3 separate regions of the Homo sapiens genome follow, and all the other regions are linked to region 2. Evidence: promoter capture Hi-C in 16 types of primary human blood cells and fetal thymus (Javierre and others, 2016). All regions are on one chromosome and are shown on one strand. Each heading gives the region's core, a stretch centred on a gene start or on the middle of the fragment in contact. The rest is flanking DNA. Distances are from core to core; before and after follow the strand shown.

Region 1 (2,837 bases), core at 207-2,706, 250 kb after region 2:
TCCTGACCTCGTGATCCGCCCGCCTCGGCCTCCCAAAGTGCTGGGGTTACAGGCTTGAGCCACCGCTCCCGGCCTGTTGTTAGTTTTTATTTCATGAATCTGTTCTATAGCTAGCCAGCTCCTTGGAAGGTGGGTCCACATCTTACATGCTTGAGTCCAGGAGTTCGAGGCCAGCCAGGGCAACATAGTGAGATACCATCTCAATAATTTTTTAAAAGGTGGGGGAGATTTGATAATTATTCTGCCTGATTTAGGATGGTTTCATGTAAAGTGTGTTCCACTGTCTAATCTCTTGGCATTACTTCTTGGGTTAAGATTGGGGAAGTGCCAGGTTGCCTCAAGATAAGGTATTAGTTTGTGCTTAGCTATGTAATAACAATACATATAGAGATGGAAGGACTGCTATACTACCACCTTTATCCCCCTCTTTTTATTTTATTCTGGGTCATATGGAGGGGGCAGTTCTTTCCGCTCTCATCGGATGTTGGATGAGAGGAACAAGTGTCCAGCCTTGTTCCTTTTCTCCATCTACAAGCTTTCCCTAGACAGTGGTTTCAGCTGCTCACTATAGTCTGATAATTCTCACCTGTGACACCAGCTTTCTCTCGAACTATAAATCCACAGTTCTAGTTGTCTTCTGCTGTATCTGAGATATTATGCAAACACTTGGCAAAGATTCCAAAACTGCATTGACTCTGGAGGTGATCTGAACTCACTCCTGTGGCTTTAGGCACATCTGTTTGCTGACAGTGTCTACATGTTAGCCTCCAGCTTGGACTTCTTCTTGAGGTTCAGACTCTTAATACTCAGTTTCCATTTGACAGTACTCAGTTTTCACTTGAATGGCCACAAACGAACTCTTTAGGTCTCCTCCAAAACCTGCTCCTCCCACAGTCTTGCCCATTTCAGTGGGTGACACCTACCTTCTACCAGTTGCTCAGGCCAAAAGCCTTGATTCATCCTTGACTCCTATCTGTCTTCATGCCCCATAGCCAATTCAAAGTCAAGTCCTGTTAGCGCTGTCTTTGGAATGGATCTAGAATCAGACCGTATCTCACCTCACTGCTCCCACCCTGGTCTGAGCCGCACTGTCCCATGTTTGCACTTCACAGTAGCCTGCTGGCTGGTCTTCCTGTTTCGGCCCTTACCCCACTGCAATCTGCTCTCCTTTTAAAACCTAAGTCATTCAGCTGCTCAGAGCCCTCCAGCAGCTTCCCTTCACGCCTAGTAAACCTCACAGCCCTCGGAGGTGCCCACAAGGCTCTGCATCATTTCCCCACCTCGTCCTTGACCGCACCTCCTCTGTCCCCCTGTGCCTGGGCTTCAGTCACCCTTCCTCCAAATACACCACCTGCTGTACACCTCTCCAGGCTCTGCTGCTGCTGCTCCTTCTGCCCAGAGGGCCCTTCCCTCAAGGGTCCACATGGCTTATTCCTCACTTCCTTACAGTCTCTAGTCATGTGTCACGTAGGAGAAACCCTCCTCAATTACGTTAAAATAGGACCCCCTCCCTCTGTTCCCCTTCTTGTGCTTGAGTTTTCTGCAAGCACATGTGACTGCTGACCTCACACGTGCTCTCAGTTGACTGTCAGCTGTGTGGAAGCAGAGCCCTGCACTCACTGCTGCGTCATCGGCACTCAGGTCCTTGCTGAGCCAGTGGGCCCTGTTGGTGCCTGTTACTGGGACTTCATTCAGGAACTTTCCACCCTTTATTCCTGATGTGCCTGATGGTCACAGTTGCTTTGCTTTTTTCCATGTGTTTCATGTCTCCTCCTTTCCACTCATAGTGCCTGTAACCGCAGCTGCTGGAGACACCCGAATGGTTTATTGGCTTTGTGAACATGTTTCTGGAGTTATGGTTTCATTGCCTAATTGGAAAGGTTTGGAGTCTCATTTTTCCCCCTCCGTTTTTTGCACATTCTCTTCATCTGCCTGGTTTGCCAATTTAGTCCCGGACATGATGGCACATGGAATGACAATCAGCTACAAGAAATGGCCCAACTGAGGATTAAGCACCAAGAGGAACTGACTGAATTACACAAGAAACGTGGGGAGGTAAAGCTAGCCCTTTTCCTCATCTGTCTTCTGCCCTCTATGAGAGTCCTGTGGGGAGCGGGGGAGCTCAGTCACTTCTCACCAGAATTGGCAGCAGCCTTAGCCATATGTGGCATCAAAAGTCCCCTCCATAGGAATAAAAGGGTGAGGAAAACAGAATGAAAAGACCAGGCAGATTGAGGCCCATCACCAGAAGGGCAATCCTGTGAGAGCGCTGCCAGTTACCATGCTCCAAAATCAGCATGAGAGGCAAGAGTGGAGAGGCTTTAAAGAACAAAAAAGCCTGCTACCTGGTGCGCTGAAGGCCTCACTGATGGTTTCATAAAGCTTTTCAGTACAAACCCTGAAATTTCAGAGACATTCGTGAGAAAGAATCAAGTCCTAGGCTGTGTTCGCCTGGATGGTGGTCTTACGGCAAAGCTCCAGTTGGGAAAATACAGTTCACCATCAGTACAGCTGAATTGATTATCTTTTCAGCAGAAATGAGTCTCCAAAAAGGTAGCTGAAGTTGAGGAGTAGACAGCTGTCCTCAGCAAGCCCCTGGCAGTCACCTGGAACACTTCTCATTCCAGCCAAGCTGTCCTTCAACAGGGAGTGGCAGGGATAGTTCCCCTTTGTGTCCCCATAGGCGCCTCGGCTCCTTGCTGTCACCCAGCTCATTTATTCTTTCTTAAAAATAAATCGCCACCCACTGTGTAGTTTCCAAATGAGGTCCTAAAATTTTTATTTATGAAAGTATTCTTCTTTATCTCCCAGTTAGCTCAACTGGTGATTGACCTGAA
Region 2 (2,830 bases), core at 79-2,578:
GAGTGCGGTGGAGGGAGGTGGTCTGTGGTCTCCCTTCATGGACCAGAAAGCTTGACCCCCAAGGGGACCCTGGCTTCTACTTCCTCAGAGCTAAGCAGTGCCAAGGGGCAGCCTGAGACATGGGCAAAGGGGAAGCCTAAATGGAAAAAGAGAGAGAGAGAGAGAGAAAGAGAGAAGGGGCAGGGAGGACAAAGACACATGGCAAGTGTCCAAGCTGGAACATTCCCACCAGTGGCCTTATTGCATTAAGGATTTTCCCAAAAAGCAGAAATACACTGATAGTCAATGGAACATAGCAGAGCTGTCACGAGCCCAGGAAACACAAGTCCCACCTCTACACAGCCAGAGACTGTGTGACTGTCCCAAATTTTAAATCAAGATAGACAATAAGAACCTACCACTTTCACATCCAAGAAAACTGTGTCCCTACACATTTCAGTCACACCGTGCTGTGGCTTGAGGCCAGCCAGATGCAAAAATCAGGAAGGTTCTGAGGGGTAGGGCCTTCTGTCTTTCTGAAAGGGGCCCCTGAGCGGAGGGGGCAGTGCTGGGGGAGCTAAAGCGCAGTGGGCTGTCACTTCACGACTATGACTTCTGTTTCCCAAGTGCACTTCCTGACCCTGAGATTTGTGCCATGGCACACAGGAATCAGGGCACTTCCGTTTACATATACGCTCATTATCAGGACTGGCGTCGTGGGTGTGGGGCCTGGGCAGTCACAGGGCCCTGTTCTTAGAAGGTGCCCCGGCTTGCTTTAATGCTGTGTTGTTGTCCTTTTGAAAGCCTTACTATTTTAACAAGGGGCCCTGCATTTTTATATTGCACAGGGCCCTGCAATTATGCAGCCATTCCTGCTTTTGATCTCACTTACCCCACAGCCATAATGGAAGAGCGCCTGGAAGGAGTCCTTATCCTGATTCCCAGATGGTGAAACTGAGTGCCAGGAGGGGCAGTGCTGAAGCCGAGACCAGACAGGATCCCTCGGGTGGAATCCAGGGCTGCTGTTTCTCTTGGGGGCTCCTCCTCAGTGAATGGATGGGTGGTAATCTCCTTTCCTACCTGTCCTAGCGGTAGCCTCTGTTCCTTCTCTTGTTTTATCTCATTTTATTTTTTTAAAAAATACCAAAACCATTCTCTCACCTGCCAGAGAGGAGCTCATAGGAGTTGGGCTTCCTCAGAGAGTGTTCCTCCCTCGTCCCCTGTCCTGTCCAGGCACCTGCGAGCAGGATGGTGTGTCCCCGGCTAAATCCACAGGCGCTCCACTCTGTCCCAGAGAGCCCACAGCCAAAAACTTCGTCCTGTCCTGGAAAAGCTTCACTGGTAAGCATTCCCGACCTTTAGACCTGCCTTGGCCCATAGCTGGCCACGAGCCCATAACGATCACTTCCCGGCTGGGTGTTTACCTTCCTGGGCCCCATGGGTTGAGCCAGGGTGGCAGCCACATACCTGACACAAAAGTGGTGCAGGAGGGAAGGGCTATCTGAGGGGAAGGCTGGGCATGGCTGGAATACCCGCCGCCCGCCCAGTGCAAGATAATGCTGATGGTCACACCAAGAGGGGCCCGTGGCTCAGCTGGCCCACCAACCCCAAGCATTGGCCAAGCCAGCTGCACGGCCCTCAAATCTGAGATTTGGGAGAGGCTTTGGGGTCCTCCAGGGTTCTAGTCACTTCCTGCCATGGCCATCTGGCCTTAACTCAATCACTTCCAGGCATGGAACACTCACTGCTTTGTAAGGCATCTTGCTCCATTATTATTATTATTATTATTATTATTATTATTATTATTATTCCCTCTAATAGCTTCCTTTAATCCAGTGCTTACTACATGACAGGCACTGGGCTAAGTACATTACATAATCTATGTAATCCTTGTGTTGTCACTATGACCAGAGAATCATGCCCATTTTAAAGATGCAGAAACAGAGGCTCAAGAAATTGATCATCTTGCTCAAAGCCCCACAGCTAGTAAGTTGGGGATCCAGGATTCAAACCCAAGCCAACTAGTATCAAAACCACTACCATCATTTGCCAAGTTTAATTGCTACATCATCCATCTTTATATAAAACTCAAATCAGCGTTTGTTTTAGCTATCTGTTCTGGAAACAAATTAACTCAAAGTGTGTGGCTTGAAATAACACTCATTTGTCATCTCAGTTTCTGTGGCTAGAAGTCTGGGCACTGCTTGGCTGGGTTCTCTGCTCAGGGTTTCTCATAAGTTGCCATCCAAGTGTTGGAGGGGCTGAGGTCTCATCTCATGGCTCCACTAGGGGGGATCCACTTCCAAGCTGCTGGTGTTGGCAGGATTCAGTTTCTTAGGGCTGTAGGATGAAGGCCTCAGCCCCTCTCAGCTGTCAGCTGTGGCCACTATCAGTCCTTTGCCATGTGGGCCTCTCCGCCCTGGCAGCTCGTTGCATCAGAGAGGGCTATGGAGAGAGTCTGGGAAGAGGTAGGTCAGTCTTTTGTAATATACTCAAGGATGTGATATTCCATCACTTCTGGCATATTCTACTCGTTAGAAGGAAGTCATCAGGCACAGCCTACACTCAAAGGTAGGGGATTACACAGGGCACAATACCAGGGGTGGGGGTCCCTGAGGGCCATCTTTGAAAGTTCCCACAGCCATCTGATTGCCACAAAACATGGGTTTCAGTTTTGTCCCTGAAAGCCAGATTGAAGTAGTCTCTCATCTATTCTCTCACCCATCCATCCACCCATCCACCCATCCATCCACCCATCCACCCATCCATCCGTCCATCCATCCATCCACCATCCATCCACCCATCCATCCATCATCCACCCATCCACCCATCCATCCACCCATCCATCCAT
Region 3 (3,088 bases), core at 297-2,796, 220 kb after region 2:
GATGCAGGAGACCTGCCCTCCCAGCTGTGGCATGAGAGGCCACCGCCAGGGGTGGCAGAGAGGGTGGGCGGATCCCTCACACTGCAGTGTCATCCACCAGGACCCGAGAAGGGCTCTGCAAGGCCGCCCTCCTCCTGCTAGGGGCCCTTCTCCCGCTCCCACCTAGGACTCGGGGAGCAGCTCTCGGGCCTCTTCCCAGGACACACAGGAGTTCCCGTCCTCAGATCTTGGTAAAGGCAGCAGGAGAGGGTGGAAATGTCCTGCTTTTGCGTCTTTGCCATAAAATGATGTCTAAGGGGTCTTCCTGCTCTAAAATTCTAAATTTCCATTTCAGTCAAGGCTTTCTGCTTATGGGGAAGAGAAACTAGCTCCAAGCAGAGACAGAGTAACCTAACCCTAAGGAGAGCTCAGCCAGGCAGAGTGGCTCACGCTGTAATCCCAGCATTTTGAGAGGCTGAGGCGGGTGAATCACTTGAGGTCAGGAGTTTGAGACCAGCCTGGCCAACATGGTGAAACCCTGTCTCTACTAAAAATATAAAAATTAGCCAGGTGTGGTGGCACATGCCTGTAATCCCAGCTACTCGGGAGGCCGAGGCAGGAGAATCACTTGACCCTGGAAGGCGGAGGTTGTGGTGAGCCAAGATCGTGCCATTGCATTCCAGCCTGGGCGACAGAGCAAGACTCTGCCTCAAAAAAAAAAAAAAAAAAAAAAAAAAAGGAGCACTGATGAAGAGTCTAGCTAGCCAGGCCTCAGCCACATGGAGCTGGGAACAAGGTTGTCAGGCAGAGGGTGGCTCTTCTCTGGGCCCTGGTCCTCTCTGGACGTTTCCTTCTGCTCACCTGTTTCTTTCTCTGCCCAGCGTCCTCTGCCTATTCCTGGTTCTCCTTGGCTTTGTCTTGCCATGGTGCTGACTCAGCCCTTGACTGCTCCAGACCCAGAGGCCCGGCTCCTCACTCTCCCTTAAGAGAGGATTTAGGCCCAGTTAGGTGTCCACGGCTGGTCCAAAAAGTTCTTGGCCGGAAAGCTTCAGTCATGGGATAGAAACACAGCCACCCAGGCACATGACTTGATTAGAGAGAAAGACAAGTGGACTTGGCAAGGGTCAGGACCTCCAAAACATCAACAGCAGTGTTGGTGGCAGCTCCTTTCATTCCCACTTTCTTCTATTACTTGGGTTTCATCCAAACCTCTCTGGTTCTCAGAGAAGTACGTTCTAGGGCAGGGTTAGACATGAGAGATTTATTGAAGGAAGTGTCTGTGCAGGAAGATGGGGAGATTACAGGAGGAGGCTGGGAGAGCTGTCAGGCCATGATGCAGGTCTGACCCTGGTGAAGGAGAGAGGGAAGGAAGGTGAGGTAGGAAGACTCTCAGCCTGCCGCACATTCTAACAAAGTTTGGGCAGGGTTGATAGACATCTGTCTAAGTCAGTTCAGTCTACTATAATAAGATACCATATACTGGGTGGCTTATAAACAACAGAAATGTATTTTCCACAGTTCTGGAGCCTGGGAAGTCCAAGGTCAAGGTGCTGGCAGATCCAGTATCTGGTGAGAACCTTCTTCCTGGTTTGCAGATAGTAGACTTCTCACTGTGTCCTCACATGGTAGGAGGAGCAAGGCAGCTCTCTGGGGCCTCTTTTATAAGGTCCTCACCTCATGAATGGGTGCTGATCCCATTCATGGGGGCTCTTCCCTTGTGACCTAAGCACCTCCCAAAGGTCCCACTTCCAAATACCATCACACTGGGGATTATGGCTTCAAGATATGAATTTGGGGCAGGGGCACAAACATTCGGTCCATAGCAGCATCCTTGAGGCAAAGTTCATCAGAGGAGTCCCACGTGTCACAGGAGTCATTCTGCCTTAGCAGCCCTGCTGTGCTTCGTCATTGGTTGGGAGCAGTGGTAAGAAATGTGGACACAGCTTGAATGTGGTGGTGGATTTAGAGCACAGCATCAAGGGCTGTCAGGTGATTGTATTTCCCCCAGCAGGAGATCTGAGAGATACAAGTTCAAGGTCAACACACAGGCTCTTTTTTATGAGGCAGGAGAAGGAAGGCACAGATTGGTAAGCTTGCAGGCTATGGAGTCCACAGGCTGGGTTGGAATCTGCCTACCTCTTACCCATCATGTGCACCTGGACAAGTTACCTGTCTCCCTGAGCCTCACTTTCTTCCTCTGAAATAATAATAATGGCCATACCTATAAAGCACTTACTGTGTGCAAGACACCGTTGTCAGTATTAATTCATTTAATCCTGGGGCACAGAGTTTAAGCAACTTGCCTAAGATATCAGAGGTGATAAGTGCTAGCATCAGAATTTGAACCCAGAACCCAGGCTACATTGTCTTTGTGAAGTAGAGCCAGCAATAGCACCAACACGACTATGCTGTTGTGAAAACTGAGAAGAGAACAATTGTAAAGCATTTAGCCTCACACACTGTATACATTCAATAAATGTTACCTGCTGTTACTGGCATTACTAATTATTATTATAGAAGGTACAGACTGAGTTTTTCTTTCTTTTTTTCTTTTTTTTTTTTTTGAGACGGAGTCTCGCTCTGTCGCCCAGGCCGGACTGCGGACTGCAGTGGTGCAATCTCGGCTCACTGCAAGCTTCGCTTCCCGGGTTCACGCCATTCTCCTGCCTCAGCCTCCCGAGTAGCTGGGACTACAGGCGCCCGCCACCGCGCCCGGCTAATTTTTTGTATTTTTAGTAGAGACAGGGTTTCACCTTGTTAGCCAGGATGGTCTTGATCTCCTGACCTCATGATCCACCCGCCTCGGCCTCCCAAAGTGTGAGTTTTTCTTTAGTGGTTTCGAAGATACACACTTTTCATCCCAATGGTCTCTTCTGACAATAACTAGTTTCCTTCATATGGTGGGGAAAATGGATCCCACTGTGACAATGTAAAGTGATCCCACCTGCAGACATTTGCCTTGCTTTGGCTCTACGCTCATCAGATGTCTTCTGAGGATAACGTGGTGTTCTGTGCACACTCCCAACAGGGTAAAGGGGACACACCATTGATAGCCTACCCAGCAGCCATTTCCTGCTTCTTCCTTCCTGAGAGAGACCCAGTTTCCTTT

What was found. The method cuts DNA at HindIII sites, captures the fragments that hold promoters and counts their contacts. A CHiCAGO score of 5 or more calls a contact.
Region 1: a fragment that was not itself captured here is called in contact with the fragment with the promoter of NGEF in region 2 in 1 of 17 cell types (endothelial precursors); the score reaches 5.6 in endothelial precursors.
Region 3: a contact is called between a fragment that was not itself captured here and the fragment with the promoter of NGEF in region 2, in 1 of 17 cell types (endothelial precursors). The highest score is 6.3, in endothelial precursors.

What each region holds. Positions count from the first base shown.
Region 1 is chr2:233,261,181-233,264,017 of GRCh38, forward strand. ATG16L1 (autophagy related 16 like 1) reads left to right here. Exons shown (of 18, transcript NM_030803.7): 3 at 1,950-2,055; 4 at 2,812-2,837. Among named protein-coding and RNA genes, the nearest start is that of ATG16L1, 11 kb to the left of the region's middle. RefSeq lists enhancers at 545-634, 935-1,004. The HindIII fragment of the contact is 1,847 bases long and covers 534-2,380 here.
Region 2 is chr2:233,011,928-233,014,757 of GRCh38, forward strand. It overlaps NGEF (neuronal guanine nucleotide exchange factor), which reads right to left and starts at 1,329. Exons shown (of 15, transcript NM_019850.3): 1 at 1,141-1,329. LOC101928881 (a long non-coding RNA gene) reads left to right here and starts at 687. Exons shown (of 3, transcript NR_136325.1): 1 at 687-1,042; 2 at 1,213-1,320. The HindIII fragment of the contact is 3,625 bases long and covers 1,311-2,830 here.
Region 3 is chr2:233,236,112-233,239,199 of GRCh38, forward strand. No RefSeq gene overlaps it. Among named protein-coding and RNA genes, the nearest start is that of ATG16L1, 14 kb to the right of the region's middle. The HindIII fragment of the contact is 1,046 bases long and covers 1,024-2,069 here.